3 separate regions of the Homo sapiens genome follow, and all the other regions are linked to region 3. The links are contacts of gene promoters, found by promoter capture Hi-C in blood cells and fetal thymus (Javierre and others, 2016). All regions are on one chromosome and are shown on one strand. The core of a region is centred on a gene start or on the middle of the fragment in contact, and the rest is flanking DNA. Distances in the headings are between cores, read along the strand shown. Region 1 overlaps CLIC4 (chloride intracellular channel 4). Region 2 has its middle 9.5 kb from the start of SRRM1. Region 3 holds the start of GRHL3 (grainyhead like transcription factor 3).

Region 1 (3,023 bases), core at 42-2,541, 500 kb after region 3:
TGGTTATCTGAGCCTTCAGCGAGTCAATCTTTTTGCCGATGGAGGGTCTTGCCTTGATGTAGCTGGCTACTGACCGATCAGAATGGTGATTGCTGGTTGGGGTGGCTGTGGCAATTTCTTGAAGTAAGATAACAATGAATTTTTCTACATTGATGGACTCTTCCTTTCATGAAAGATTTCTCTGTAACATGCAATAGTGTTTGATAGCATTTAAAAATTTTAAAGTAAATATTCTTTGCCTGAGGCTAATCTCAAGAGGTCCTGAGAACATGCACCCCTGTTTGATAGTGTTTTTACCCACAGTAGAACCTTTTTCAAAATTAGAATCCATCTTCTGAAACCCTCCTGCTGTTTTAACAACTAAGTCGATGTAATATTCTAAATTCCTTGTTGTCATTTCAACAATGTTCTTAGCATCTTCACTAGGTATACATTCTATCTCAAGAAACCATTTTCTTTGCTCATCATAAGAAGCAACTCCTCATCCATTCAAATTTTATTATGAAGGTAGAACAATTTGATTACATTTTCAGGCTCCAGTTCTAATTCTAGTTCTCTTGCTATTTTCAACACATATGTAGTTCCTCCCTCCACTGATGTCTTGAACCTGTGAATGTCGTCCATGAGGGTTAGAATCCACTTCCTCCAAACTCCTGTTAATGTTGCTATTTTGACCTCCTCCCATGAATCATGAATGTTCGTGTTTTTTTTTTTTTTTTTTTTTTGGACGGAGTTTTCGTTCTTATCGCCCAGGCTGGAGTGCAGTGATGCGATCTCGGCTCACTGCAACCTCCACCTCCCAGGTTCAAGCAATTCTCCTGCTTCAGCCTCCTGAGTAGCTGGGATTACAGGTGCCTGCCGCCATGACCAGCTAATTTTTTTGTATTTTTTAGTAGAGTTGGGGTTTTGCCATTTTGGCCAGGCTGGTCTTGAACTCCTGACCTCAGATGATCCGCCCGTCTCGGCCTCCCAAAGTGCTGGGATTACAGGTGTGGTATGAGCCACCAGACCTGGCTGAATGTTCTTAATTGCATCTAGAAAGGTAAATCTTTTCCAGGTCACTTTGCTTTGCTCAGATCCATCAGAGGAATCACTTTCTATGGCCTTATGAAATGTGTTTATTAAATAATAAGACTTGAAAGTCAAAATTTATGGACTGCAGAATGGATGTTGTGTTAGCAGGCATGAAAACAACCATGATCTCCCTGTATATCTCTATCAGAGTTCTGGGGGGACTAGTGCATTGTCAATGAGCAGTAATATTTAGAAAGGAATCTTTTTTTCCTGGGCAGTGGGTCTCAACAGTGGGCTTAAAATATTTAGTAAACCATACTGTGAACAGATGGATGTGCCATTATCCAGGCTTTATTGTTCCATTTATAGAGCATCTGTAGAGTAGCTTCAGTATAATTCTTAAGGGTTCTTCAAATTTTGGAATGGAAGATGAGCATGGGTTTCAACCTAATGTCAACAGCTGGATTAGACTCTTAACAGAGTCAGCCTGTCCTTTGAAGATTTGAAACCAGACGTTGACTTTTTCTCTGTAGCTATGAAAATCATAGATGACATCTTTCAATAGAAGGTTTTGTCTGCATTAAAAATCTGTTTAGTGTAGCCACCTTCATCAATGATCTATCTAGAAGATCAATTCTAGATAGATCATTGTTGAAGGTAGATCAGATTTTCTAGATAGATCATCAGATGAAGGTGATGAAGGAAGATCTAGATAGATCAGCTAGATCTTCTAGATAGATCAGCTAGATCTTCTAGATAGATCAGCTAGATCTTCTAGATAACTGGCTGCATGCAGCTTCTGCATAAGCATTTGCTGCTTCATGTTTTACTTTTATGTTACAAAGATGGCCTCTTTCCTTAAACCTCACGAACCAACCTCTGCTACCTTCAAACTTTCTTCTGTAGATTTGTCACCTCTCTCTGCCTTGATAGAACTGAAGTGAGTTAGGGCCTTGATCTGGATTAGGTTTTGGCTTAAGGGAATGCTGTGGCTGGTTTGATTATCTGGACCACTCAAACTTTCTCCCTATTGGCAATAAAGCTGTTTTTCTCTATCATTTGTGTGTTCACTGGAATAGCACTATTAAATTTCCTTCAAGAACTTTTCTTCTGTATATGCTGTTTGGCTGTTTGGTGGAAGAAGTCTAGCTTTCAGCCTATCTCAGCTTTTGGCCTGTCTCAGCTTTCGACATGCTTTCCTCACTAAGCAGAATCATTTCTAGCTTTTGATTTAAAGTGAGAGATATGTGACTCTTCCCTTCACCTGAACACTGAGAGGTCATTGTAGGGTCATCAACTGTGGGCTAATTTCAACATTATTTTGTCTCAGGGAGCAGGAAGGCCTGAGGAGAGGGAAAGACAGGGGAACAGCAATCACTGGAGCAGTCAGAACACATATGATATTAATCAGTTAAGTGTGCTGTCTTATATGGGTGTGGTTTGTGGTGCCCCCAAAACAATTACAAGAGTAACATCAGAGATCACTAATCACAGATCATCATAACAGATACAATAATAATGAAAAGTTTTGAAATATTGCGAAAAATACCACAGTGTGACAGAGACATGAAGTGAGCACATGCTGCTGGGAAAAATGGCGCCATCTTGCTTGACTCAGGGTGCCATAAACCTTCAATTTGTAAAAAACGTAATATCTGCAAAGCACAATGAAGCAAAGCTCAATAAAGCAAAGCACAATAAGACAAGTTATACCTGAAGTTACTCAATTTGGTTTTTTTTTGTTTGTTTTGTTTTTTTTGAGACAGAGGCTCACTCTGTCACCCAGGCTGGAGTGCAGTGGCACAATCTTGGCTCACTACAACCTCTGCCTCCTGGGTTCAAGTGATTCTTGTGCTTCAGCCTCCCAAGTAGCTGGGATTACAGGCACCTGCCACCATGCCTGGCTAATTTTTGTATTTTTAGTGGAGATGGGGTTCCACCATGTTGGCCAGGCTTGTCTCGAAATCCTGACCTCAAGGTATCCGCCCACCTCGGCCTCTCAAAGTGCT
Region 2 (2,996 bases), core at 340-2,839, 310 kb after region 3:
TCACATCCTTGCTATATGCATATTGGCTATATGCATATTAGTGAATATGTTGATTCTAGATATGATTGCTGCACATCCTGGTTCTACCACCCCCCCTTATCTGGTTGTAGGTTTGACATATAAGCAAATAGCCGCAATTTGTCCACTTGATAAGGGGTGATGACCCTCCCTGCAATGTAAGCAACCCTCATGGGCTGGAACTTGGACTTCAATAATTCATGGACTCATAGACTTCATCTTCATACCTATCCAGCCTAAGGGTCTTTATCTATTGCCCATGGGTAACTGGACTACAATTCTCCAGGGTCAAAAGAGAAGTCTTGTTTATCATATATGCTGAATGGTCTCTAGCCAGCCCTACATTTACAAGACAATGTGTTAAGGACCCTGCCTAGCTAGGGAATTTGGGTGTGGGAGGTAAAGAGAAAAAAGAAAGGCCACTTAGAGCAACAAGAGCTATTGATTATTTTTAAATGAAGTCAAGGATGATTTTTAATCACTGACCACTATGACCCCTGCTGTCCAAGTGTTGCTGGGCCTGAAGGTGAAGAAAATTGGCACAGGCCTCACTGGCTTTCCCTTCCTCTCACCTTGTGGATTTGGGAACCAGCTGGGAGGCAGTCACTGGCCAGATGAAGAAAGGCTTGTTTGCTCATTCACCAGAAAGATAAGATCTGTCTATATTCCCTCCTCCAGCCATTTGCTTTAACACCTACATGAATGTCAAGCAACTGGTAATGTGGTCTTAACCCTAAGCAGATGGACCAAACCCTGAAAGTAAGTTCTGTTGTATGTTGCCTGTGTGATTTTACACAACTCACTTTTTCTCACGCCTTACTGTACTCATCTGTAAAACAGGAATAATACCGATGTATTAGCTTGCTAGGGCTGCCATAACAAAGTATCACACACTGGGTGGCTTAAGCAACAGAAGTGTATTTTATCACTGTTCTGGAGGCTGGAAGTCCAAGATCAAGTGTCAGCAGGGTTGTTTTCTTCTGAAGCATCTCTCCTTGGCTTATAGGTGGCCGTCTGCTCCTTATGTCTTAATTTGGTCTTCCCTCTGTGTGTGCGTCTGTATCTTAATTTCCTCTTCTTCTTTATTTATTTATTTATTTTTGAGATAGGTCTTGCTCTGTCACCCAGGCTGGAGTGCAGTGGCACGATCTTGGCTCACTGCAACCTCCGCCTCCTAGGTTCAACAATTCTCCTGCCGCAGCCTCCCAAGTAGCGGGGACGACAGGCACCTGCCACTACGCCCAGCTGATTTTTGTGTTTTTAGTAGAGATGGGGTTTCACCATGTTGGCCAGGCTGGTCTCGAACCCCTGACCTCAAGTGATCCGCTCACCTCGGCCTCCCAAAGTGCTGGGATTACAGGCATGAGTCACTGTGCCCAGCCAATTTCCCCTTCTTATAAGGACTCCAATTATATTGGATAAGGACCCACCTAATGGTCTCATTCTAACTTAATTACCTTTTTAAGGACGCTATCTCCAAATACAGTCACATTCCAAGGTACTGGAGGTTAGGACCTCAATATGAATTTGGAGATGGTGAAGGGACAGGGCAGGGGTTGAGAGGGGGAGACAATTCGGCCAGGGGTTGGGAGGGGGAGACAATTCAGCCTGTAACAATCTGCTAGATATTATTGTGAAGACTGAATTAGCTAAAGTGTTTAAAGCATTAACACAAAGCCTGACATAATATGACCCCCCCAAAATGGTAATTATTATTATGAAATCCCATATAAAAGAAAAGTACTGCCATCTAAATACAGAGAGAACATAGACAGGTACAGGGAATTCCAACCATGGTTCTTCATTTCCCATCTGATGGGTGCTGCTCTTATTCTTCCAGCTCTTGTTTTAAAAATATGCAAACATGGGCTGGGCGCGGTTGCTCACACCTGTAATCCCAGCACTTTGGGAGGCCGAGATGGGCAGATCACGAGGTCGAGAGATGAGACTATCCTGGCCAACATGGTGAAACCCCGTCTCTACTAAAAATAACAAAAATTAGCCAGCCGTGGTGGTGTGCCTGTAGTCCCAGCTACTTGGGAGGCTGAGGCAGGAGAATTGCTTGAACCTGGGAGGCAGAGGTTGCAGTGAGCCGAGATCGTGCCACTGCACTCCAGCCTGGCGACAGAGCAAGACTCCACCTAAAATATATATATATGCAAACATGGCCGGGCACAGTGGCTCACGTCTGTAATCTCGGCAGTTTGGGAGGCTGAGGCGGGCGGATCACTTAAGGTCAAAAGTTCGAGATCAGCCTAGCAAACATGGTAAAACTCCATCTCTACTAAAAATACAAAAATTAGCCAAGTGTGTTGGCACATGCCTGTAATCCCAACTACTTAGGAGGCTGAAGTCAGAGAATTGCTTGAACCCGGGAGCCGGAGGTTGCAGTGAGCCGAGATCATGCCACTGCACTCCAGCCTGGGCAACAGAGTGAGACTCCATCTAAAAAAAAAAAAGAAAAGAAAAAAAATGCAGCCAGGCACGGTGGCTTACGTCTGTAATCCCAGCACTTTGGGAGGCCAAGACGGGAATATCACTTGAGGTCAGGAGTTCAAGACCAGCCTGGCCAACATGGTGAAACCCCATCTCTAATAAAAATACAAAAATTAGCCTGGCATAATGCCGCATGCCTGTAATCCCAGCTTTGCTCGGGAGGCTGTGGCAGGAGAATTGCTTGAACCCGGGAGGCGGAGGTTGCAGTGAGCTGATATCGCACCACTGCACTCCAGCCTGTGTGACAGAGCGAGACTCTGTCTCCAAAAAAAAAAAAAAAAAGCAAACATAATACTTGAATATAACATCTGTGGAGGTCTTTCCATGGGATGACAAGCAAAGATGTTACGTTTTTCTCTGATGCCTGTTGCTGTTATTCTTCTGGTAATATTATGAACTCTCCAAGGACTAACTTACACTTCCTTTGTGCCCCTTACTATCTAAGAACACCATGCTAAGCATATAGGAAGGGCTCAGTAAAA
Region 3 (2,911 bases), core at 120-2,619:
TCAAACCCAGTACCCCCTCTCCAGAGCCCTGACCCCACCCCAAGAGGGCTCCTTTGAATTCTGACTTTACCCTGAAAAACCTCCATAAATTGGCAGGGGTAGCTGAAACCTCACTTGCCGTTCCCAGAGAAGAGAGAGAGGAGTGGGCCAAGTTGAGGTTTCCAGGAAGACACAGCAAAGAGATAATTTGCCAAAAGGGGAAGGGTGGGGGAGGGGAGAATAGAAAGAGAGAGAGGGAAAAAAAGATGCCAAGATCTCTGGCTTAGATTTAATTTCAAACTAATCCTGGAAGAAGCTCTTTAAAAAGCTCTTACATTCTCCTGTTTGTGTTTGTGGATATTCTGGGGTTTACCAAGCTTGTTCTTTATAGTAGACAGCTCACAGCAATTACTCCACAATTACTTCATCTGACAGGCATTGAATTTCTCCCAAGTTCCCAATACAGAACGAAGCACTTGGAGCCTGTGAAATGACCAGCTGGCTGAGGCTTCAGAGGAGCCTTCAACTTTTCTATCCCTTCTGTGCTGACCAGAGGTATGTGGCTTGCCCACACCCCCTTCACACCCAATAAAAGCCTGTTCTCCTTTACTCCCCCACCCCCTGCCACCAACACACACCCCCCAGATTGTAAACTCCTTTAGAACAGTAACCCCTGTTTTTTCTGGCCTCAGTTTCTCCAGAACCCAGAGTAGGGTCTGGCACACAACGGGTGCTCAATGAATGTCTACTGAATTGAGGCCACTGACTTCAGCCCAAGGGGCAGCCAGACTTGGAGTGAGATGACTGCAGATTGGATCTGGGCTGGGACCTCGCTAGCTGTGCCCTTGGGCAAGGCACTTTGCCTCTCTGGCCTCCATTTCCTCCCTCATCTGTAAAATATGTGTTGAAGAGGAAGGGGGAAGCGATAATAAATCTACCACGGTAGGTTACTTTAAGAACCAAAAGAAGTCACTTGAGTAACTGCAAAAGATTATTCAAAAATATTACCTTAAAGGGGAAACTGAAAAAAAGGGAACTTATACAAAGATCTACCTGGGAAAAGTTGCTCTCTCCTTTGAGAATTCCCCAGTGGTACAGAAGGAGGGGGCAAAGAAATTTGGGGGTGGGGATGTTTCTGGGTATCTGGGACAATGACTAGAAACAGGAATCAAGTTTTCCTTTAAGCCAAGTTATCTGTTTGTCCCTGTACTTTTCCTCTAGTTATCTTGCTTCTTTCCAACATTTTCTTCTCCATCCCTCCTCCCTCATCTCCACCCCCCACCCCCTCACCAAGGAAGGAATTGGCCAGCTCCACCCAGCCAGTCCCCCATAGCTCCGCCCTCCTCGGCGGGCTAAGAGTTAACAGCTGCACCTGTTGAGGTATACCTCCAGTCGCCGGCACCTGTACCTGTAGCCAATCAGCGCCAGCGCTGCTGGGAACCTACCTGTCAGCAAAATCTCGACACCCAAACCTCAACATAAATCAAACACTTTCCCGGGCAGAGAATGTCTGTGTCAGGCAAGAATTAGAGACAAGCGGTCAGCAGAGCCTCAGTGCTGATCGTCGGAGCTTGGGAGCAGGAAGATGTCGAATGAACTTGAGTGAGTAAACATCGGTGGATACCTGCCGCTCTCAGAGCGTGGAGGCTGGATGGGGTTTCCTGGAGGGGGAAGAGCGGGGAGGCCGGCACCGGGATTCACAGAGCAATTTGTAAGGGTAAATGAATGGGCTGACGATCTTACTTTGGCGTGTCAAGGCAAGCCCCAGTCTCAAGCTAGAGGTGAGTGTTTCCCTGGGAAAATAGTTTTTCTCATTCTCTTTGCTGAGCAGTTTCGAGCCAGGCAGGGAAACACAAGACTGAAACTGTGAAGGTTTCTGGCACCACTTTTTGATCCTCTGAAGGGGCCTTGGAAATCAGACGACCCCAATCCCATCGAGGCTTTCTATCTTCTTGCCAAAAGGAACTTCTTTAAGGTAGTTCTAAGAGCTGTCTTAGGCAGAGAGTTGGGTTTCTCTAAAGGGACTTGTTTGCTGGGTTGGAACAGTCCCAAGTGGGAAGGTTACAGTGTGGTGGTTAAGCATGTGTACTCTTTGTAGTGGGCTTGACCTAAGTTCAAATCCAGGCTCTGTCCCTGGGTGATCTCAGACAAGACATTCAATTTTTCTGGGCTTCATTTTCCTCATCTGGAAAATGGGTACAAGAATGCTTTGTAGAATTCTGGAAAGAGTTAAGTGTGATAAATGCTGTAAAATGCTTAGCATAAAGCTATGGTCTGAAGATGCGTTCAGTAAAATGTGGTTCCTCTCATTCAGAGGCAGTTCTAAGGCTGGGGAAGATGAGAAGTGATTTTTGGTAGGTCACCTCTTTTGGCTGGGAGGATGCATGTGCCTTCCTGCCCACATCTGAGATTTAAGATCCTGACTGACTGATGCTGATCTTCACCATGATGTCCTTCTTGGGGTCCAGACCTTAGAGAAGGTAGGGTGAGGCTGGGATCTGGGCTGCTTTAGATTGGGTTCAGGGAGCTGGCAGGAGAAGCCAGAATCCTTTAAACACAGGCTCTCCTTTTCCTGCCACCCTCAGAGGTGAGTGGGCAGAGGCAAGGATTGTACCATCTTTTTTCTAACTGCTCCTCAACAGACTTTTAAGAACTTGAAGATCTGTGGGCAGACAGCAGTGCTAGGTCCTGACTGCAGACCGGATTCTATGTTCTAGCTAGCCCTTCAGCTCTTCATGTTCACAGCACAATCACTTGGGTTAACAGGCACATTTCTTTTGAATGAATTTCCCGGGGTTGACAATGTATTGACAATTGGACCGCAATGAGAATAAGAGCAGGAGCATTGGTACTGACACCTGGGTTCAAGTCCCAGCTCTAGCACTTATAGCTGTGTGATGTTGAGCAAGTCCCTTAATCCTCATCTGTAAAT

The links. Contacts are between HindIII fragments. The CHiCAGO score rates a contact against its expected background, and 5 or more counts as called.
Region 1: a contact is called between a fragment that was not itself captured here and the fragment with the promoter of GRHL3 in region 3, in 1 of 17 cell types (naive CD8 T cells). The highest score is 5.4, in naive CD8 T cells.
Region 2: a contact is called between a fragment that was not itself captured here and the fragment with the promoter of GRHL3 in region 3, in 2 of 17 cell types (non-activated CD4 T cells and naive CD4 T cells). The highest score is 6.1, in non-activated CD4 T cells.

Annotation. Positions count from the first base shown.
Region 1 is chr1:24,815,532-24,818,554 of GRCh38, forward strand. The region is part of intron 3 of CLIC4 (chloride intracellular channel 4); the gene reads left to right. Among named protein-coding and RNA genes, the nearest start is that of CLIC4, 72 kb to the left of the region's middle. The HindIII fragment of the contact is 5,114 bases long and covers 1-3,023 here.
Region 2 is chr1:24,632,323-24,635,318 of GRCh38, forward strand. No RefSeq gene overlaps it. Among named protein-coding and RNA genes, the nearest start is that of SRRM1, 9.5 kb to the right of the region's middle. The HindIII fragment of the contact is 3,320 bases long and covers 1-2,996 here.
Region 3 is chr1:24,317,988-24,320,898 of GRCh38, forward strand. It overlaps GRHL3 (grainyhead like transcription factor 3), which reads left to right and starts at 1,370. Exons shown (of 16, transcript NM_198173.3): 1 at 1,370-1,581. The coding sequence starts at 1,565. The region is part of intron 1 of GRHL3-AS1 (GRHL3 antisense RNA 1); the gene reads right to left. The HindIII fragment of the contact is 12,430 bases long and covers 355-2,911 here.